4 separate regions of the Homo sapiens genome follow, and all the other regions are linked to region 1. The links are contacts of gene promoters, found by promoter capture Hi-C in blood cells and fetal thymus (Javierre and others, 2016). All regions are on one chromosome and are shown on one strand. Each heading gives the region's core, a stretch centred on a gene start or on the middle of the fragment in contact. The rest is flanking DNA. Distances are from core to core; before and after follow the strand shown. Region 1 holds the start of OLFML3 (olfactomedin like 3). Region 2 has its middle 140 kb from the start of SYT6. Region 3 has its middle 120 kb from the start of SYT6. Region 4 has its middle 96 kb from the start of SYT6.

What was found. Contacts are between HindIII fragments. The CHiCAGO score rates a contact against its expected background, and 5 or more counts as called.
Region 2: a fragment that was not itself captured here is called in contact with the fragment with the promoter of OLFML3 in region 1 in 5 of 17 cell types (M0 macrophages, M1 macrophages, M2 macrophages and 2 more); the score reaches 15.9 in M0 macrophages.
Region 3: a contact is called between a fragment that was not itself captured here and the fragment with the promoter of OLFML3 in region 1, in 8 of 17 cell types (M0 macrophages, M1 macrophages, M2 macrophages and 5 more). The highest score is 27.7, in M0 macrophages.
Region 4: a contact is called between a fragment that was not itself captured here and the fragment with the promoter of OLFML3 in region 1, in 5 of 17 cell types (M0 macrophages, M1 macrophages, M2 macrophages and 2 more). The highest score is 16.7, in M0 macrophages.

What each region holds. Positions count from the first base shown.
Region 1 is chr1:113,978,068-113,981,047 of GRCh38, reverse strand. OLFML3 (olfactomedin like 3) reads right to left here and starts at 1,574. Exons shown (of 3, transcript NM_020190.5): 1 at 1,418-1,574; 2 at 431-716; 3 at 1-99. The coding sequence starts at 1,531. RefSeq lists an enhancer at 1,497-2,330. The HindIII fragment of the contact is 3,076 bases long and covers 1-2,980 here.
Region 2 is chr1:114,293,073-114,296,052 of GRCh38, reverse strand. No RefSeq gene overlaps it. Among named protein-coding and RNA genes, the nearest start is that of SYT6, 140 kb to the right of the region's middle. The HindIII fragment of the contact is 8,600 bases long and covers 1-2,980 here.
Region 3 is chr1:114,269,343-114,272,322 of GRCh38, reverse strand. No RefSeq gene overlaps it. Among named protein-coding and RNA genes, the nearest start is that of SYT6, 120 kb to the right of the region's middle. The HindIII fragment of the contact is 1,496 bases long and covers 818-2,313 here.
Region 4 is chr1:114,248,220-114,251,199 of GRCh38, reverse strand. No RefSeq gene overlaps it. Among named protein-coding and RNA genes, the nearest start is that of SYT6, 96 kb to the right of the region's middle. The HindIII fragment of the contact is 843 bases long and covers 1,036-1,878 here.

The sequences.
Region 1 (2,980 bases), core at 325-2,824:
CTGTTTGCCCCAGTGGATCCTTGGTCCATAGACCAGCTGGGCCACCAAATCGCTTCAGAATCTTCATTGATCTCACTTGAGAGATTGTGTAGCCACAGTCTGATGAGAAAAGCACAGGAAAAGGAAATAGAGGCAAGAATTAGATGCCTCCAGCAGGAACTCCCCCAGGGTGGGTGATCTGGAGAATAGTGAGCATTTGCCCAGTGGTTGCCTCCAATCTTAGGGAGAATTGAGAAAGAGCGGGTACCACAGCGGCCTGGATCCCCAGAACCTCTCCTTAATAGACCTGGCATTACAGAGGTTTCCCTAAAACAGATTCCAGAAGACAGAGCCACAATGGACTGGGACAAAGCGAAAAAAAGAGTAAGAAGCAAGGAAGGAAGAATATCGGTTCTGAGAAGAGTTAGGGGCCTGCTTTCAGATTATTTACCTGTCACCATATCGTACTTCTCATTCCTTCTTCCCTTGCCTTTGGTCCCAGGGCCTCCAGTCACCTTCTCATCAAACTCTACACAGGGCAGAGCTGGGTTCTGGGTCTCCAGATAGTCTACCTCCCGCTCCAGACGATCCACTCTCCCGGAGATGGTGTCGGCCTCAGTTCTGAGTGCCTCCCGCTCCTTCTCTGCCACCTCCAGCAGTGGCAGCATCTTGTTCTTGAAGTCCCGCAGCTCAGCAGCATGCCGACTACTCTGGTCCTGGCACTGGGCCAGCCGTTCCTGAAGGGATGGGGGATCAGGAGGGAGGCTGCAGGGTTACAACTCCCAGGCAGGGAGAGGCCCAACTCGGGAGTCAGGAATGGGAAAAAAAGAGCAAACTCAGCCAGGCTTCAATATCCCCTTCCACTCCTGCAGAAAAGGAAACCAGATGTGCAGAGGTGCTAAATGTGCAAAGAGCCTAGCTGAGATTCACCTAGGCCCCTACCCCGACTCCATGTCCTCCAGCCTGTGTTCTCTGTGAGCAGTGCCACTGAGCCATCTGAGCCTCTAGGCAGGTCTAAGCGCATGAAGGTGTGAAGAGGTCTCTGCTCCCTTAGCAATTATCCTCTCGGACACTAAAATGCTACGGATCTCAACCTGTTAAAAAGACAGGAAGTTATAGATTCCCCGGGAACCTCCAACTTCAACAGAATCATCACCTTCTCTGGAGATGCAGCCCCACAATTTTGGCTCTCGTTTCCACTCTGCCCCCTTATTCTATCTAATCCCAGAGGTAAAACGCAAAAGTCGATTTGCTTTGGAATTGTTCTATGTGGGGTAAGAGGAGGGCTTGTCATTCCGAAGGTCCTCTTATTAAGAGAGAATTTTCTGTAGACTCTAACAGAGCCCTTTCTTGTTATCCCCAGATCCCTAACAAACTGGTTGAACCAATAGCCCTGGAATCCTTCTAGGCGGGGCTAGAAGAGAAAGGGGTCCCTCACCTCTAAAGCAGCTAGTCGGCGTTCCATGTACTCCACAAGGTGGTGCTGCTGTCCTTGGAGGGGTCCCGACCATGACAAAAGGAACAAGATGAGGAGAGGGGTGCTGGGCCCCATGGCAGCCTGGAGAGTGGTGCCAGAGTAGAAGGAACGTACAGTCAGCCTCTTCCCCTCAAGCCCGAGGGTTAGCTTTGGAGGCGGGGTGGGGGCGGTGCCTTCTCTCCTGATCTCTGGGTCTCTCTCACTACTCTGGAATGCTTTCAGTTCTCTTTACAACCCCCACCCCCTCCTTTCCGCCAGGATTGATCAAACACAGATGGCCCCATTGCACAGCAGCCAGAAGCCTTAACCACCTCCCGCCTAGGCTGTAGGGTCCTCTGGAGGGGAAAGAGATGGAAACCCGAAAGCAGAGGCCTTCTAGGCAGTCAAGCAGGGAAGCTAGCTGCAGAAAGCAGAGACCCCAGAGAAAACTCAGCAAACGCCATTCCTGTTTTAGGAAAGTTTCACCAGTGCTGACTTAAGAAACTGACATTTTTCATTAATCTTTCCCTTTCCCTGCAATAGAGTGGGTTTTCAGCCTTGTTCAGTAGAAGCTGGGAGCTGGGGAGGTGAGGCTTGAAGGGAGGAAGCAGGAAAACAATGGCCCAAGTGGTCAAGCCCAACTTATTCTAAAGCTCATTGGCGCCACCTTGTGCTAAGCAGCTGGTGTCATCTCTCATGATAATACAGAAACTAAGGCTTAGACTTCACCCCATGAGGAAAATTTTCCACAAAAGCCAAATATATTGAATTTACAGGGGTTTTCACCACTGAAATGCATATTTCCCCCAAGACTATCCAATTACTACTTTGGGGGCTATGCAAATATCTGATTTAGCCCAAGGAAGAAAATATAACTGAGATTAAAAAAAAAAAAAAAACAGGTCACTGAGAAGTTAGTAAATTAACTCGATCGTCTGGAAGTTAAGGCTGACAGCAGCGCTGTTTTACATGGCTTTCCTTTGCTTGAAAGAGGCCAGATATAGTCTCTCACCAAAACTGAGGAGTGTTCAGTGAGTTCACACTAATTTACTATACATTCATGTATTGCGGGGGGGCGGAATCTGATATATATATATATGTTGTTGCAGTCTAGATCAATGTATTCTGACTTCCTTACCACTGGGAGAAAAGACTATTGGTTATTTCTCTTGGTTGTGGTCCAAAAGGGTATTTCTGAGTGTTTCTCATTTCTATATCCCAACTAAGGCTGCAGGAGCCCAAAATGAATTAATGGCCACCATAAGGTAGACTTGGGCCATAAGGTAGACACACGGGCCGAAAAAAAAAATCAAATAGAGCATTTACTCAGAGACCTGCAGTCATTAATCGAAACAAACCCCTATTTCTTTATCGGGAGAAATTCTATTCACTTTAGAATCAACAGAATCTGATGAGAGGTTCCTTCTGTAAAAAGGACCATGACTCTAACAGTACAGTTTGAAAGGAGGGGAAAAATAGCAGCTTCCTGTGGTTACTCATCTTTTCATTCTGCTACTGCTATCTGGCAAAACATATGAGGAAACA
Region 2 (2,980 bases), core at 164-2,663, 320 kb before region 1:
AAAATTTTTCTTGTATTGTTTCTTCAGTAATTTCTTCTCCTCTATTTTCTTTTCTTTCTCTTTCTGGAATGTCTATTATTTAAAGGCTGATTCTCTTTATTGGATTCTCTAGTTGTCTTATCTTTCCTTTTTCTACTTATTTTTTATTCAACTTTCTAGGAAATTTCCTCAATTTTATCTTCCAAACTTCCTATTGAGTTTAAAATTTTTTGATTTTATTTTTAACTTCTGAGAACTCTTCATTATTTTCTGAATGTTTATTTTTTAGAGTCTCTTATTCTCAAATTCATGGATGCAATTATCTAACCCTATTATAAGGATAACATTTACAGATTTCTAAATGTTTTCTTGTTTTCATTACTGTCTCCCTCTAAGTTTCTTTTATCTACTGGTCTGTTTTGATTTCTTTCACATTCTAGGTACTCTCCAAATGTCTGTTAATCTTTGTCCATTTTTAAGACACGAAGGCATTATCAGCATGGTAAGGCGCTAAAATGCTGATGCAAAGCTCTGTGTGCATATAAAGGGCTTATTGTCTGGTGACAGTAAACAGTGGTGATCAGATGGGAACCAGGCTGTTTTGTTAAAGATCTCCCAAAGCAGCATCCGTAGACATTTCTCTTGAGCTGGCCAATTTCCCTATTGAAGAATCTTTGAGGAATATAAGGTTGGCTTCTGATATTCTGGAGCAGAGTGTGGCGGTGCGGGGTGGTGGGAGTGGGCGGGACTTGGGTTCTAAGTATTCACACGATCCCCGTTTTCGGTAGGGAGGCTAATAGCCATCCTCAGTTGGACCCAGTCTCCCCATGTTCCCCAAAGAGCCTGAATGGTTCATTTCTCCAGGGAGTAAATCCCTGGTCCCGCTAAATATGAAAAAAAGAAGCTAGACCAAAAAAAAAAAAAAAGAAAGAAAAAAAGACTGAGTGGGTAAAAAGTCAGCCTGGGCAAGGCAAGAGGAGGGATAGGTGGCTCTCATTGCTTCTTTCAGTCTTTTGATCGCCTTTTTTCCAGCCCCAATATGTACTTCTATCTTTTGAGGCACATAGTGTCTTCAATTCCTGAACCTTTCTAGAGATCTGAAGTATAGAGAGTCTCGCTTCATCTTGATTTCCTCCATCTTGCTGGCTTTGATCCAAATTATCTCTGCTCATCTGCTTCACAGCTTCCAAATTTTTATAGACATTTATTATCTGCTGAATTTCCTCCCTGGTCTCGTCTTTGTAGTCCGTTTGTTTTTTAAATACTATACTATCATCTTAGTGGACTTTTGGTAGGAAACAGATAAAAGCATGTGTTCTAGTCTCCATGTTTAGCCAGAAGCTCCCCAGAGCAGCCACTCTTAACTCCTGGGCTTAGAAGAGACTGATGGGGAAAAAGCCTCCTGATTGTGGAACTTGAGCCATTGAATTCCAGGCTAGCCACTGCTGCTTTGGTTCATAGTACACACAAGGTACGCTATATGAACTAACCTTTTAGCAATGCTCTTTATGGCTGTCTCCTTGGAGAGCTTCAAGAAGTGAGGCATTATGCACCAGGTAAGCATCTTTAGTGGGATAGGAGTCATTTGGCCAAGTCGGTTGTAAAGTAAATCCCTTTCCCCATTATTCTGTTGCCAGTTGGCTTCACTTAGCAAACATACGGTTAAGTAGTTAAAGTAGCCGGTACACTATGAACAGCCAGCAGTCAGCCTCCTAGGGCTTCTTGGTGGGTTCACAACCACCACATTGGTTTGGTTGCAAGGGAAATTCAGCTTTTGGCTTAGCTAAGTACAGATTTATCTCTGATAATGTAAAATCATATTGAAATGGCTGTGTAAACACTGCTCTCTCCTTTCCTGCTTGTCATCTGAAACACTTTCCACTTTTAAGGCCCAGATGAAATGCGAGTTCTTCTGTAACTCTTCTAGTGCTCATCTCCATGTTCTCAGGGTGCTTTTGATGGGACTCTGGGATTACTTTTTCTAAGAATTGCATTCACTTGCTTAATAGTTGCCCTCTGTGGTTGGACAGGGAGCTCATCAAGGCCAGCAACTCTCTCTCCCTTCTACTCTAGTACCCAGCAGGGTGCCTGACAATACGTGGGAGCAGCCCTTGTGTATTTATTGACTGACTGAGAAAAGAGTCTTCTATTAGTAGAGCCTGTGTATCCTTTTACCAGGGATGGTAAAAGGACATCCCAGTGATGAGTTTCTAGTGAGCTACCTTTTGGCTTCACATTATGGCCTCTAGAGACAACTCAAGGCTTTCCTTGGCAATATCCCTTCCCCTAAGCCCCCTGCCAGGAGAAGGGGCTCAAGTGTGAGTCAAGAACAAAGTAGAATGACAAGACAGAGTTAGTCTCTGCCTTGGGGGTGCACTTCTGGAGGAAGGCTGGGAAACTGGGGTCCACACTCTTGGCTCTCCCCTTGGATCCTGCTGCTCCTTTGGGCTGTGGCTTGCTCCTGGCTGCTGGAGTGACGTGAAGGGCCCATGTCATCTGGTTTTCCTTGTCCTGGTCCCTCCTGTGGTCATCAGGGTTACACTGTGCCCTGCAAACATCCTGTGCAGGTTCTAACCCAACGGAAGTCATCAGCCCTATGTATCTACTCCAGTTGGAAAATTCCTTTATTTCAAGGCATCAAGTACTGGAAAGCGAATGATTTTCCTAGTTCAACATTTGCGCTAAACACAGGCTGTGTTCTCACAGGGGCACTGCAGAATGCGTTTCCCAGTTCTTATAATAAAAGAATACTGCTGGTAAGGATTAACAAAGAATGTCTTCAAATAATAATCAAATATAAGAAATAGACAAATTCCAAATAAAATTCCATAATAATGGAATACTATGTAGCAATGGAAAGGAACTGCCACTGGTATGTGCAAAATTATCCTGCAGAGTGAAAGGAGCCAGATGTAAAAGACTACATGGTGTATGATTCCACTTATATGAAATTTATGGAAAAGACAAGTCTATGGAGATGGAAGGCAGATCGGTGTTTGCC
Region 3 (2,980 bases), core at 316-2,815, 290 kb before region 1:
TTCTGTGAGCACTGAACCCATCCATTTTCTCAGAGGGAAGCTCATCTCTTCTGTGCATTGACTGTCAGTGTGAGTCTGCTGTTAGTCCAGTTGCACAGCCAGGTGGCTTTGCAGAAATCCCTAGAGCAGGTCAGTGGCTTATTTTGTGGAAGCTCTAGGTGGTCCTGGTGTCCTGGTGACCTATAAGTTCTTGGCGACATTGTCCTCAAAAACTCAAACTTTAAGAAGTCAGTGTCTGGCCTTAATGAAGTAAAACAAAGACATAGGCTTGGAGCCTCTGGTGGAACTCAAAGCTGGGTTATTGGTAAGGACTAATGTTATACTACCTCTTTTCATCTTCTGTGCCACTCTCAGTGCCTTTTCTTGAATATATTTTTTTCTCTCTTGGGGGAATTTAAAATTTTTAAAAATCTTTTTGAGAGCCCATTGTAATACCAAGCTTCCTAAAGTAAATCTAACCTAATGTGGAAAAATTATTAGCTAAGTTTCTTTTATTCACATTAGAGGGTATTTGAAACATTGATCTTCTGACCACCTTTGATAGATCATGGCCACTGATAAGTCTCCAGAGATGGATTTACTGCTAGTGAAACACATGATGTATTCTGCACTTCAGCAGAGCAAAGTTGGCCCCACACATAGCTGTAATGGAAAATGAGGTAGGGGATTTATATACTTAATTAAAAATAGCAAACTCTCAAATCCAGACCCACAAATTGACTTTTAGAGTTCTTGTTGCTGAAAGAGTTGCAAATCAAAGCAATTTCGGGTGAAAGTTCATTTTTCCTTGAGACCAGTTCTTTAAAAATTGAAAGCTTTAACTTGACATTAATTTCACTGATAATAAGAACATAAATGTAGCCTGAATTATATGACTATATATAAATCTGATTTATGAAAATCTGTCGAAGAAGCTATAAGGATCAGTAACAGACACAACTTGAGAAGGAAAATCACAGAATTGTCTAGCTTAATAACCCCTAGAGTGTATAAGACATATAATTTAAAATTTGTTGTGTTTGGATACAATGATCAAAAATAAACAAATCTGGAAAAATTGCAGAATTCCGAACAAGGGTAGGAAGCTGAAGTTACTGGTGTTATCCACACAAGGTCGCAATAAATTTGTTTTCCCTCTTATTCTGTTGTTCTGAAAATATTGTTTTGAACTGATAGCTGGTTCGCATGTCCTTGTGTTGCTCCATTTTATTATCATTCTGGGCCTTTTGAAGGACATAACTGCTTTTTAATCACACCAGCAACATAAACCATAATGACCTATTTTTTTCCTCATAAATGCCTTAAGACTGTCAGTACCTTAATATCCTGTGAGCAGTCTGAGGACAGGGACCATGCCGTTCAGCCTGTGTATCCAGCTCCGGGCACAGTGCAGGGCACAGAGGAGCTTGGTGACCATAATGAGTTCAACTGGATTATAGAAGCCAACACATGCAGCCTTTGGTGGCCCCTGAGCCTCAGGAAAGCAAGTGATTGGATTATTCCATTGTCTGGGAAGTATCAGAAACTGGGCTGGGGACAGATGTGTAACTTGCATGTCTTGGATCTTCAGTAACACAGGGCCTCATTTTTTGTGACTTGAAGAGAGGTAGATTCAGAGGCAGAGAAACTAAATAGGCAAAAATGTAGAACACAAGAAAGGTTGCTAGAGAGCCTCTGAATGTCTTTGTCACAAAAAAGAAATGTGAACCTTATCATACAGCCTAAAGTCTTCAGCTGGTCTCCTTCAAGGTTGAGCGATTCTCTGCCAGAGGGAAGAGGGATGACTAGGGGGAGCTAATGGTTTCCCTGTTATCAGCTGTAAACTGAATGCTGTATTAGTTTCCATAAATACTTGGCACATGAGTAGTAAGCAGGGAATAATGATCAGTCCAAATTACTCATTTGTTACTCTATTAGTGGAAAATATAGTGTCAGCTGATGCAGTCAGCTTGACTCAAGTCTGTGATACAAGCCGCAGGCAGACAGACCATCAGGGGCTGCAACACAGGGTCCAAGGTAGCCTGTTTGGGTGAGAAGAACCCTCCTGAGCATGCTGCCTTCCCTTTTGTACTATACCCCTGCGGTTAATCTTCAAACCAACTCCAAGCCCTGCCACTCACAGTTCTTTAAACCACCTCAGTCTCTTCTGTAGGACTTTAAGCTACTCCTCATGGCACTGCAACAGTGCCCAGGGGCCACTTGCTGGGGCACACCGGAGCCTTTGACCAGGGTGCCCTGGACAACCTCACTTCCTTTTTCTCCTATACTCTAATCTGTCCTATTAATAAACTAGTTCCATACTCCAGGCAAGCTTGGATTTGGATCTGTAAGACAAGTTGGAGAAGGTAACTCATCTCTTTGAGACTCAGTGGCCTCATCTCTAAAGTGTAGGGTGATCAACCGTCCAAGGTTTGTCTGGGACACAGGACTTGTAGTGTTAAAACTGGGATGGTCCCCAACAAAGAGGGATATGTGGGTCATCCTATACAAGCAGGAATACTAACACCTTATTGTGTGGATGAGCTCAAATATTGTTTGCAGAGTAGCAGACAGGAAGTAAGTGGTCAACAATGGTAGTTCCCACCCTCCTCCCTCAGTTTGGTGAATTTTGAAACAAGGGTTTGTGAAACACCTCCAGGTACCGCTTTAGGTGTTGGGGGCTGTGAGCAAGTGAAGTCTAAGACACAAATCTTGGCTTCAAGGTGTCCCCAGTCCATCTGGGAATGTAACAGCAATACACATGAAACTGCTATTTTATTTACTTATACTTTTATGCTTCATTTTCTTCCAAAAAAGGATTGAATTGGAGGAAGCTCAGAATAAACGTACATGAAAATAAGAGTTGAAGGACAACAACCACGTAATTAAGGGAGACAGTGGTGGAATAATTATACTAGAAACCCAAGGCTAAGGAAATCTACTCCAATTGAACACAAAACAGCCAGAGAACAAAACAACACAGGGAAGACTAAAATGAAAC
Region 4 (2,980 bases), core at 208-2,707, 270 kb before region 1:
AAGGACCCAGGACTGTCACGGGGGTGGGGAAGATGGGGTGTTAGTGCTGAGCTTGAGGCTGAAGAGGTTCGGTGGGCAATTGTGTAAATGTATTTGGGGCTCAGAAGGATGACAGTGTTTGATCGTGAGTCGCTGACACACGCAGGGTCACTGAAGCCACATGAGTAGAGGTGACCACTAGGGAGAGCACCTAGTTAGCAAAGAGATAAAATTTCTTTATCAGTGAAACAGCTAAGGTCAGAGATTCAAAGAATAAGTGAGCTATCATACGTAAAGTGCCTAGGAGGGTACCTGGCCTACAGCTGGGTGGCAGTCAATGGCAGGGCCCTTCTCTTCAGCTCCCTGTGGTGCAATGGGGCAGCTCTGTCCCACATCCAGTGCCATTTTCAGACTCTTGCCTGATCTCACTGTTCTTGTCTGCCTCTCTCTTTGATTTAATAATGTTAGAGGAGCCCCTGCTTACCAGGCCTCTGATTTAATAAAATATGACCAGAGTGATTCCATCTTAAATTGAGTAACTAGGCACTCACACAGCACCTATAAGGTTAATACTTATGGTTTGAAAATAGCCACATTCTAAGCTGGCCACCACTTATAAGTGCAGAATATTTGTGGCCATACAGAACATCTTTCACCAAGCCCACAGAACATCCAGATGTTCTGAGTGCCCCCCACTTGACTTAAAGATAATGTTAATGAGCAGGCTTAGGTTGAAAGATGAGTGGTCACTGATAGCACCAATAGCCCCTACCTTTAATGCATACATCTGCACATTTCAAGCTTAATTATAGCTCCTTATAGTTTCTTAAAAGTAGCGACCCTAACAAAGGAAGGACACGAGTTCCTCCTCCTGCTTTCCAAGGACTCTCTACTCCATAATGGAGTAGTTTCCAATAATCTTGCTTCTTTCACTGTGCTCCCAAGCCCTGTGACTCGGCCTGAGTTCTTTCCTGCACAAGATTCAAGAACTCTATCTTGGGGTCTGGATTGGGACCCCTTTTTATGGCAACAATACCACCTGTGAAAATCTAAGCTTGTCCTCTCTTCTTACCTATGTCCCAGAAAATGAAAATGGGCTGCTTAAAATGCAAGCCCTGACCCAAATCCCGTAGTGTTTAGAAATAAATTCCCAACCAAGCAGGACTCGACTCAGAGACGGTGGCTGCCTGCTGCTCCAGGGATGAATCTTAAAGCCACGGTTTGCTTCATGATACATAGGAGAGAAATCTGGTCAGGAAACTCTAGAAAATCTTTTCTCAGCCATCTGTCTTCCCCTGAATGGCAGCCAGAGATGGCTCCCCAAGTCGTGTGCGGCAGCTCAGTTGGAAAGGGGCCGGGGCTGGGGTGCCAGGGCAGGGTGCTAGTGCTCTGTGTTTGGTGAAGGCACCGGCTGGCAGGTTACGCCCCGGAACAGTCAGTCAGCAGTACCAGATTATCCAAGGATGGGAAAATTAGCTTCTGAAGCCTTCCCAGATATCTTATTATTGAAATTGACTTTTCATCCGATGAGATGTAGTTGTGTTGAATCGACAGCCAAGCCCTGACTCCAGGTAGTGGCAGACTCTATGATGCTATTTTTTCAACTTAGTACTAGTTTGAGAGAAAATGTGAACTGGATACCTAGAATAGACTCTTCGCCAAGGGCTGCAGGAGTCTCAGAGAGATTCTATTATGCCCAGTTGCCCTGAGGGTCTCAGAGCAGGAGTTAACTACTCTTCCTTAGAGTCTGTTGAAAGTGGGCTGACCCAGCGAAAAGCCTGAATCAATGAACTGTGCTTTCAAGCAGGTAAAAGGAACGAAAAGAAGAAAGGTGATGCTCTCCAGGAGAGGCAAAATGTTTGTATTATAAATAAATACTTTCTTATAAAGAAGAAAGCTTTGTGGCTTCGTCCTCTCCACTCTCCCCTCCCCGCCATTCAGACTGCAGCATTGCTGACTCTGTGCTCTTCTTGGTATATACCTGCCATTGATTTAGAGCCACAGGGAGAAGGCAGATGTCCTTGATTTATCTAACTGGACTGGTTTTCATTTATGTGCCTCAGGGGCAATTTTGGCTGAACTGCAACCCGGTTATTGGAAGTGTTCTTGTCCCCTTCCTCTGTCTCTATTTATATGCACGACACTTAAGCTTTGTAATTGGGAGAAGAAGAAAGAAGGGGTTTCATGGATCTCTTCTCCACTGTCTGTCCTTGGCCTGGGTTTCATCTCTACAGGGATAAGGATCAGAATTGGATGGAATTATTTTCATGGCAGACTTGGTGAGATTCTGGGCACAAGCTGGGATGCTTTAGGACCCAGGTGACAAAGTGCGGCCTCGGAGTAGGGAAAGGCCATTCTCCTCCCTCCGTACAGAACTCAGGATTGGTGGCCTTTGAAGGCGTTTTCAAGCTGCTTAACGGGTGAGTGGAAGCCAGAGGAAGAGGCACCTCAGGGCAGCCCCCTGTGGTTGGTGCTGCTGGAAGCCTGGCCTGTGCCCAACGTGAAGCTTTCCTGGGGCAGTTCCCAGAATTTACTAGGGGCCCCTTGAGGGGCTCAGTTCTGGTTGGGGAAGGGAGGGCTTGCTCAGAGTCATTGCAATTGGGATATCAACATAATCATGACCTTGTTTTATGTCCCCAAACTGAGAGGCCACGGGACCCAGGATACTTTGTAGGGAGAGTGCTGGCATCTCATCTTCTGGCCACCTCTCTGGCTTCAGTTGAACTAAGTGGCAACTTTGAAGGACCTGCCCTGGAAGAGTAAGAGACATTTCCTTAAGTCACTCAAATGAGAGATTTCTCATCCAAGCACAGCCCTGCTGCTTGTGTGGGAGGTCTCATTGTGTGGGCAGGGGGTCATTGCAGAGAGGCTGGTATTGGGGGTGGAGTTAGTCTGGGGAAGAAGGAAAGAAGGAGGGAAGAAGAAATGGTCTTAGGTGGTTAATTCAGTCTATAGCTGTTGCCACTGATAGAGTTTCATTTTTTTCGTTTTATTAAATTAT